Linked DNA regions of Homo sapiens: region 2 is linked to region 1. The links are contacts of gene promoters, found by promoter capture Hi-C in blood cells and fetal thymus (Javierre and others, 2016). All regions are on one chromosome and are shown on one strand. The core of a region is centred on a gene start or on the middle of the fragment in contact, and the rest is flanking DNA. Distances in the headings are between cores, read along the strand shown. Region 1 holds the start of MIS18A (MIS18 kinetochore protein A). Region 2 has its middle 18 kb from the start of SCAF4.

Evidence for each region. The method cuts DNA at HindIII sites, captures the fragments that hold promoters and counts their contacts. A CHiCAGO score of 5 or more calls a contact.
Region 2: a contact is called between a fragment that was not itself captured here and the fragment with the promoter of MIS18A in region 1, in 1 of 17 cell types (M1 macrophages). The highest score is 6.1, in M1 macrophages.

Annotation. Positions count from the first base shown.
Region 1 is chr21:32,276,401-32,281,255 of GRCh38, reverse strand. MIS18A (MIS18 kinetochore protein A) reads left to right here and starts at 2,207. Exons shown (of 5, transcript NM_018944.3): 1 at 2,207-2,575. The coding sequence starts at 2,242. It overlaps MIS18A-AS1 (MIS18A antisense RNA 1), which reads right to left and starts at 2,051. Exons shown (of 1, transcript NR_046576.1): 1 at 257-2,051. RefSeq lists enhancers at 1,794-2,013, 1,957-2,456, 2,457-2,958. The HindIII fragment of the contact is 2,727 bases long and covers 1,939-4,665 here.
Region 2 is chr21:31,747,721-31,752,575 of GRCh38, reverse strand. No RefSeq gene overlaps it. Among named protein-coding and RNA genes, the nearest start is that of SCAF4, 18 kb to the right of the region's middle. The HindIII fragment of the contact is 2,788 bases long and covers 585-3,372 here.

The DNA.
Region 1 (4,855 bases), core at 958-3,457:
GCTCAAGTGACTCTCTCGCTTCAGCCTCCCAAAGTGCCGGGGTTACAGGCATGAGCCACCATGGCTAGCCTTGTTTTTATATTCATAATATTAATACAAACACACTTGTGCCTATAGAGGAATTCATTTTGCATCAGCCAACTTCTCCATGATGTGCAGGAGGCATCATGCCTACAAACCATGATATTCTGAAGGACCATGAAAATGTTTCAATTTTTTTAATCAAGAGCAATAAATGAACTTACAGGTCTAAAAATGTTTTATGATATCATTTTAATATAATCATCTTCATAGCAATGTGACTATAAAATGAAATTTTTATTAACTGTTTTATGGAGAGAAAGGCCTACTAAGGCAAAAATAGGGCCCCTGAAAGTCACCACGCAGCTCGGCCTTGTATTCCTTCTTTCCTGGGGCATCCTATCATAGAATTTAAGTATTGACAATAGGAACCCAAAGTCTGAGACAAGATGATCCTTTGAATCCCCAAGTAACTAGCCACTTACTTAAAGAACTCATGTGGATTGTATCAATGTTGTACCAGAGATATTATGCTTGAAAACAACAGTCCAGGAAGGTCAGGCTTGGCTCTACAAAAGTAGAAGGGGCAAAGTATGGTGAGGCATGCCTGTAGTTCCAGCTACTTGGGAGGCTGAGGCAGGAGGATCGCTTGAGGCCAGGAGTTCGAGACCAGCCTGGGCAACATACTGAAACATCATCTCTGAAAAAATAAAGAAAAGAAAAAAAAAAGCAGAAGGAAGGAAGGGAATTCTATGGGTAAAAAAAAAAAGCCTAAATTATCTAAAGCATTTTCTTCCAGTAAGAAGGTGATTAACATGAGCATGGTGTGCCAGGGTTTACAAAGTATTTTCATGAATATTAGAAAACTCGATCCTCATGAACAACTTGGTGTAGTACTGAAGAAACAGACTCCATTTACTCCATGAAGAATTAGACTCAGGGAAGGCAAACAGCCTTTTCCACAGTTCCCTACACTGTTACTACCTTGTGGAGGGAGGGGTAAGTTAACCAGGACCACTGACTCCAAAGCTTTTGCTTTTTGCTAGTGGCTGTAAGCACTAAAATTGGAAGTACATTTACATAAATAGTTTATGCAACCAAGCAAAATAGGCAGTGACTTGGGGGACACCCAGAGCGTAGTAGGAACAGAGTAGGTCCTTGCAGGTAGCTTTCTTCCCAGGTATACCACCAGACTGTCTGTGGTGCAGCTGGCTGGTTCCCCGCCAGCTTTCCCTCCTGACCTACGGTGTTTTAGGCAGAGGCTGGCTTTCTGGGGCAGCTGAGGAAATCTGTCCTTATCATCAACAAGGGATGCTTCTTCCTTGCAAGGACGAATTGTTCCTTGATCCAAGCAGCAGGGACACTTCCAGGCTTTCCAGGGGCACTGCTGCTTCCTCAACTTTTTCCTTGCAGTGACAGCCTGAGTGATCCGGGGCCCTTCCCAGGGTCTCATTCCAGGGATAGCAGTGCGCAAAAGGACCCTGTGATGAGGGACTCCTCTATCCCCTTCCTTCTCCACTTCATGGAAAGGAGGTCCCCAGGAGCCGACAAAATAGAGCAGTGGTCATCAAAAGTGGAGCTGCTTATATACAACTATAATTAGTCCACTTACAAAAAAGAAGAAAAAGGGTGGTGGTCTGGCACAGTGGCTTACGCTTGCGATCCTGGCATTTTGGGAGGCCGAGTAGGGAAGATCGCTTAAGGCTAGGAGTTCGAGACCGGCAACATAGAAAAACTCCCCCCCCCACCCCCCAAAAAAGGTTGGGCTGCCAATACTGACAGCGTGGGCACGCCTAGGAGCTTGTTAGAAATGCAGATTCTCGGGCTAACCTGCTACCTGCTGAACCAGAGTCTGCGAAGATGGAACCTGGCGATCTGCTTAAGAAGCTCGCCAGGCGGTTCTTAGACACTCAAGCTTGCAACCCGTAACTTTCTCAGTGACGCTGCCCCTCCCACGGAAAGGGGTGAATAATCCTTAGGAAGACAAGCAAACAGGTCTGCATCATCAATTTCTTCAGGCTGGAAAACCTGACGCAGGCGCAGTGACTATCACGCTTGGCCAAGGCCGCACGGCGCGCATGCGCACTAGAGGCCGCCCGCCGTCCCGCCCCCTTCAGGCTTTTGCCCCTTCTCGGCCTCCGCCACCGCTCCCCGCCCCGCGCATGAGCAGCGGCGGTTTTTTTTCCCATGGCGCTCTGGGGCGCGGGCGATTTGTAGGTAATGGCAGGCGTTCGGTCACTGAGGTGTAGCAGAGGATGCGCTGGCGGCTGTGAGTGCGGCGACAAGGGCAAATGCAGCGACTCCTCGCTGTTGGGCAAGAGACTCTCCGAAGACTCGAGCCGCCACCAGCTGTTGCAGAAGTGGGCGAGCATGTGGAGCTCCATGAGCGAAGACGCGTCGGTGGCCGACATGGAGAGGGCGCAGCTGGAGGAGGAGGCGGCGGCTGCGGAGGAGAGGCCGCTGGTGTTCCTGTGCTCCGGCTGCCGGCGGCCGCTGGGCGACTCGCTGAGCTGGGTGGCCAGCCAGGAGGACACCAACTGCATCCTGCTTCGCTGTCAGTTGGGTCGAGCCGGGCAGGGGGGGCGTGGGGTCGCCTTCTTCCAGGGGTGCCGCGCGTGGGCGGCCCGGGAGGAGGCGGGGGCTCCTTGGGGCTGCCCAGGGACTTTAAGAGCAAAAAGTCTGAGAGTGTGAGCTGTGGCAGGAAAAGGGGAGGAGGGTCACCCCTCCACTTTGGCTCTCGGGCGGTGGGTTCTTTTCTGGGGTCCCCGATCCCAGAAGAGCAGTGGTTGAATCAGCATCATCGTGAGCATTACTCAGAAACAAAGGGCGACAAAGAATAACACTTTTAAAGACCCTAAAAAAAGAGAAACAAATGGTCAACTAGACTGTAAGCACTTGAGGTGCAGCCAGTACTATTACTCCCCATAGAAATTAGCAGGCTGTTGGTGTATCAGCGGATGCCTCTACAGCCTCCAGTGATAGAGCCGCAGAGTTGACGGAACACAGTGCTATAGGGAAGAAAGGGAAGGAAACTTGCAATAAAAGCACCAACAACCCCATGAAAACTGGCGAGGAAGGAGGATGTAGCAAAAGAGTTCAGAAGAAGGCAGGAATTAGTTTCTAATCCTGGTTCTAGCAGTTACCTCTTACCTCTGTTGTTCCACTGTTCCCTCATTTTGATGTTTTTGCAGTATTTAGGGATAAAGTGGTTCACATATTTTTTATGAATTGGTGTAAGAATGGCTGTTGTTTTTGGATTGTGATTTTTCAAGATGAAGTTTTTTCTGTCTTTGAATGCCGTAAATGTTCCGATGGCAGTAATTCACCACCGGCTTATCGACGTTTCTGGAACGTTTTCCTTGGTGTAATACTGGGAATAAAGGAGCACACCAGTGTCCAGTAGTTAACTGAAAGTTGAGATTAACTCTTTGCACCTATCAAAATCAAACCAGGCCGAGCGCGGTGCCTCAGGCCTGTAATCCCAGCACTTTGGGAGGCCGAAGTGGGCGGATCACGAGATCCGGAGATTGAGACCATCCTTGCCAACATGGTGAATGAAACCCCATCTCTACTAAAAATACAAAAATTCCAGATCAGCCTCGCCAAAATAAAAAATTAGCCGGGCATGGTGGTGTGCGCCTGTAATCCTAGCCACTCCGGAGGCTGAGGCAGGAGAATCACTTGAACCCGGGAGGCGGAGGTTGCAGTGGGCCGAGATTGCGCCACTGCACTCCAGCCTGGAGACAGAGCGAGACAACGTCTCAAAAAAGAAAAAAAAGAAAAAAGCAGATTTTTGGTTAGGTAGGAAAAGCTCTTTGTTTGAATGAGATTCCCTTGTTTACATGTTTTTAAGGAATAACGTGTTTGATGTTACATCTTTCATTTTATTTGTTTGTTTCGATAGAGTGTATTTTTTGCCATGTGGGCTCTTTTCGTTGTTTTGCGTTACTTATAGAAAGACTGTTTTTGTTATTTAATTTTTATAACAATAGCTTTTAAATTTAAAACATAGTTCTAAAATAGTAGTTTAAAATTTAAAGAACTATACATTTTTTGATTTATCAGATTTAGATAATAGGATTTAACACCTCCCCACACCCCCCAGTAAAGACAAATAAATGAACTCGGATTCATTTCCATTCCTTCCTTACCCAATTTGAATTAGTTTAATTATTTTCATTTTGTCAAGGTTTATACATTTACATTCTGTACATTTACATTCTGTTCTGTAGCTATAACAGCCTAACTATGATTTTTTAAAATAGGATTATTTATTTAATAGGTTTTTTTTTAATAGGGTTATAGTGGGTTAACAGCCCTCTGTTGCCCAGGTTGGAGTACAGTGGCGCAATCATAGCTCACTGTATGTAACCTTGAACGCCTGCTCAAACTATCCTCCCGGCTCAGCTTCCCAAGTAGCTTGGGACTACAGATACACACTAACACCTGGCTAATCTTTAAATTTTTTGTAGAGACAGAGTCTTGCTATGTTGCTCAGGCTGATCTCAAACTCCTGGCCCCAAGCAATCCCCTGCTTCGGCCTCCTAAAGTGCTGGGAGTACAGATGTGAGTTACAGCACCCAATCCTATAAAGTTTATATAAATTGTTTTCCCAACTCCAGTACTCATTAACATAAAAAAGCTTCTTAATAGCTTTTTCATTCCTGAATTGTTTGATTAATCATTAGTGCTCCCCACGTCCACATCTCCAAGAAAATTTCAAGTTTATGTGCTAGAAAATATTTTCCTTTTTTTTTTTTTTTTTTTTTTTTTTGAGACAGAGTCTCACTGTGTTGCCCAGGCTGGAGTGCAGTGGTGCAGTCTCAGCTCACTG
Region 2 (4,855 bases), core at 729-3,228, 530 kb after region 1:
CTCAGTGGGTGACTCAATTGACTCTTAGCTTTGACAATGAGAAGTTCCAGAGCCGGTCCAGGCTGCACTGCGAGCAACTTGGCACTTGTGACCCAGCTGATTCAATGAGGTCTGAAGGGTCTCTGGCCAACTCGGATCCAATAAGGAGTCTGTGGCAGGCTCTGACGGGAGAAACAAAGTCAGCAACCCTGGGATTCTAGGGGAAGTCAAGACCTCTCAGCCAATAACAAACCTTTTGAGAACCAAGGCTTGGGTTGCTGTGCTTCCAGTCAGCATGACATAGCGATTGAGAACTCAGGCTGGTCCTGGGTTGCCTGGGTTCGAATCTCATCTCCACCACTTAATAATGAGGCTCTAGACCAAGGTTGTCCAATCTTTTGGTTCCCCTGGGCTACATGGGAAGAAGAATGTCTTGGGCCACACATAAAACACGCTAACACTAATGATAGCTAATGAGCTAAAACAGGAACAAAAAACAAACAAAAAACTCATAATGTTTTAAGAAAGTTTGCAAATTTGTGTTGGGCTGCATTCAAAGCTGTCCTGGGCCACATGCAGCCTACAGGCTGTGCGTTGGACAAGCTTCCTCTAGACCATAGCCTATCTTTCCTTTGCTTCGGTTCCTCTTCTGTGAAATTGGCTTAACAGTAAAGGCTGGTTGGGAGGTTTCATGTGTAATGCATGAAAAGGGCTTAGCATGATGTCCAGCATGTGCTTAATAATACAGGTTGAATATCTCTTGTGTGAAATACCTGGGACCAGAAATGTCTCAGATTTCAGATGTTTTCACTTTTTGGAATATTTGCACATACATACCTTGGGGTTGAAACTCAAGTCTAAACACAAAATTCATTTACGGTTTTTTGTTTGTTTCATTTACGGTTTTTTGTTTGTTTGTTTGCTTTTTTTTTTTTTTTTGAGACAGAGTCTCACTCTGTTGCAGTGCACTCTGGAGTGCAGTGGCGCAATCTCGGCTCACTACAACCTCCCCATCCTGGGTTCAAGCGATTCTTGTGCCTCAGCCTCTCAAGTAGCTGGGATTACAGGCATGTGCCACCACGCCTGGCGAATTTTTGCATTTTTAGTAGAGACGGAGTTTTGCCATGTTGGCCAGGCTGGTCTCAAACTCCTGACCTCAGGTGACCCACCCACCTCGGCCTCCTAAAGTGCTGGGATTATAGGCGTGAGCCACCACCCCTGGCCATTTATGTTTCATATACACCTTATGCACGCAGCCTGAAGGAAATTTTATACAATATTTTAAACAATTTTGTGCATGAAACAGAGTTTCGACTGTGTTTTGCCTGCCACCCCTTCACATGAGGTCAAATGAGAAATTTTGCACTTGTGATGTCACATCAGTTCTCAAAAACTAGTACATTTTGGAGCATTTCATATTTTGGATTTGGGGATTAGGGACACTCATTCTATATGTTATTGGATCCAGCATGTTGAACAAGCATGAGTCATGCCAGAAACCAAACCTTACTTCAGTGTGTTCCTATCATCCCCCTAAGCTCTCCCTAGTGGAGGTGGCCTTCTCATGAGCTGGGAAACTCTGGCAGGTCCCAAACCTTTTCCACTCATTCCTTGGAACAGATGAGTCATATTAGGTCACAAACAGTTTCAATTTAGTAGTTAGAATGTTAGAATGGGTTGGGTGTGGTGGTTCATGCCTATAATCCCATCACTTCAGGAGACTGAGGCTGGAGGATCTCTTGAGGCCAGGAGTTTGAGACCAAGCCTGGACAACACAGAAAGACCCTGTCTCTACAAAAAAAGAAAAAATTGGCCGGGCACGGTGGCTCATGCCTGTAATCCCGGCACTTTGGGAGGCTGAGGAGGGCAGATCACGAGGTCAGGAGTTCAAGACCAGCCTGACCAATATGGGGAAACCCATCTCTACTAAAAATACAAAAATTAGCCAGGCTTGGTGGCACGCGCCTGTAGTCCCAGCTCTCGGGAGGATGAGGCAGAAGAATCGCTTGAACCCGGGAAGCAGAGGTTGCAGTGAGCCAAGATCGCGCCACTGCACTCCAGACTGGGCGACAGAGTGAGACTTTGTCTCAAAAAAAAAAAAAAAAAACGAAAAGAAAAGAAAAGAAAAAATTAGCTGGGTGTGGTGGCGCATGCCTGCAGTCCTAGCTACTTGGGAGGCTGAGGAGGCAGCATCGCTTGAGCCCAGGAGATTGACGCTGTAGTGAGCTGCTAGTATCAGGCCACTGCACTACAGCCTGGGCAACAGAGTAAGACCCTGTCTCTCTCTCTCAAAAAAGAGAAGAATGTCAGAATCCCAAACATGACAGTGTTAAATCTCCCTCACTGTTTGGCTGGAAGACTGCAGCGGGGAAGGTAACACGGCCTTCTGGTCCTCCTCTTCCCTTACTCATGTGTCCCCCAAACTTGCCAGTTGTGGGTGCAGTCCCACCAGGTGCATCAGAAGCAGTGGGTAGGGAGAAGGAAGGGTCTAGCCCAGCTCCAACTTGGCGGCTGGCTTCATGCTGTCTCAGGGCAGGCAGATGGTTAGAGGAGGCTCTCTCTCACTTTGGTGAGCTCTTTAGAGATTTCTTTTTTCTTCTTCTTCTTCTTCTTTTTTTTTTTTTGAGACACAGTTTCATTCTGTTGCCCAGGCTGGAGTGCAATGGTGCAATCTTTGCTCACTGCAACCTCTGCCTCCCGCGTTTGAGTGATCCTCCTGCCTCAGCCTCCCAAGTAGCTGGGATTACAGGCACGTGCCACCACGCCTGGCTAATTCTGGTATTTTTGGTAGAGACCGGGTTTCACCATGTTGGTCAGGCTGGTCTCGAACTCCTGACCTCAGGTGATCCACCCGCCTCAGCCCCCCAAAGTGCTGGGATTACAGGCGTGAGCCACCGTGCCCAGCCTAGAGATTCTTTTCTGCAACCTTTTCTCCCCCACTTCCTTTGACTGCAAAGAATGCACCTATTCTGGGTGGTCTCTTGTGATGTCTTTAATCCCTGGGCAGGAGTTGATCCACTCCAGCCTCTATCTGCTGAGGTCTCCAGGTGGCTGCTCTCTCTCCCACTCAATCCTGAGTGTGGTCCTTGGGAAACACTCAGCGTCACCTCCTATCCCAGTGTCATAGCACGGGGTATGCCACCAAAGCAGGTCTTCACCCTTCTCTCCCCCTTGGGAGAGTCAGAGCCTAGCCCATGGCCGCCTTAGATACAGTCTAGGTACTCATCCTTTATGTTGCCCACCTAGCAGGGACATATCTTAAAACTCTCCTGGGGACCCCTGTGGTCTTCCTCATGAGGCATGAGGTTACAATCAGGGATGGCAAACTTTTTCTGGAAAGAGCCAGGCAGCAAATATTTTAGGCTTTATGGGCTTCAGCCTCTGTCACAAGCTTCCCACTGATACTTGAAAACAGCGAGAGGCCAGGCGTGGTGGCTCATGGCAGTAATGCCAGCACTTCAGGAGGACAAGGAGGGCGAATCACTTGGGACCAGCCTGGCCAACATGGCGAAACCCTGTCTCTACTAAAAATACAAAAATTAGCCAAGCATGGTGGCACATGGCTGTTATCCCAGCTATTCCAGAGGCTGAGGCACGAGAATCACCTGAGCCTGGAAGGTGGAGGTTGCAGTGAGCTGAGATCAAGCCACTGCACTCCAGTGTGGGTGACAGAGCGAGACCCTGTCTCAAAAAAAAAAAAAAAAAAAAAGGAAAGAAAAGAAAAAGAAAACAGCCAGAGACAATACTCAAACAAATTATCGTGGCAGTGTGCCAATTAAAATTTATTTGTGCAAATAGGCTATGACCAGATTTGGCTCACAGGACAAAAGCTTGCTGGCCTCTCACCCCAAATAGAGGGGGGTTAGAAGCCTGAAACGGTCAACTCCTTTCCCCCAAAACTCTCACTACCAATCTCCTTATCCCAAATTCTCTCTCTCTGCACCCTGATCATGTTTATTATCTCCAAGTAGGGAAGGATGAGGAATTGCTGAGAAACACTTTTTCAGACATTGCCCTTGAAAATCTCAATACATGGATTTGCCTATAGCTTTGGTAGCCAATGACAACTTGGCACCTCAGTTGGAAATGACGCAGGAAGAGTTTAAAATGTGCTGAGCTTGAGAAGGCTGCGGAGTCCAGATGTGGCATCCAGCTGAGAGCTGAAAGTTGTGCCTTGAAAGTCACAAGGATGAACTGGGCATAGCCCTTGTCCTCTGTTCTATCACACACCGCCTTGCCTTCTTAAACAGAGAATGTGGCGCATACTCTCCCATTCCTCATTCACTGGGGCCTGATGTGTATAGCAGCCTTGTTGTGACTTGCTGTAAAACCAGTGCCACCGGGGGTTATGGAGGTGCCTGGAACAAGTTCCTCCTAAACAAAATGGCCTGACAGTGTTGTCTTTGTGTGTTCTTTCGTCTGCTTCCTATAGATTGCTGTCTATAGATCGTGTGTGTTCTTGTGTATGTTCTTTGTGTGTTCTTGTGTCTGCTTCCTATAGATGGCTGTCTTCTTCACTGTCAACATGTCAGCTGTTACCTCTAGTTGCTGTCAGTTTCCCTATCTCTAGTAGCCTCCTTAACTATTTTTCTACTTTTCATATGCTGGGACTTTAAAACAAAAAGAAGAAGATTCAAGATGTTAGAATTGCACTAGATAACTATGCTAGGGAGTGAGTGCAGAGTGGCTGTCCCTCTAGCTGGTGGCATGAACGATCTTAATCCGTGGACAATGGGATATCTACTGTGGCTGCTATGGACTTATTCATTTATTCATGTACTCATCATTCATTGATTTAGTTTTTTTGCTTGAATGCAGGGGCTCAGCCAGGGTGCTGACATAATGCAAAAAACTACCTGTATTTAGGATGGGATCA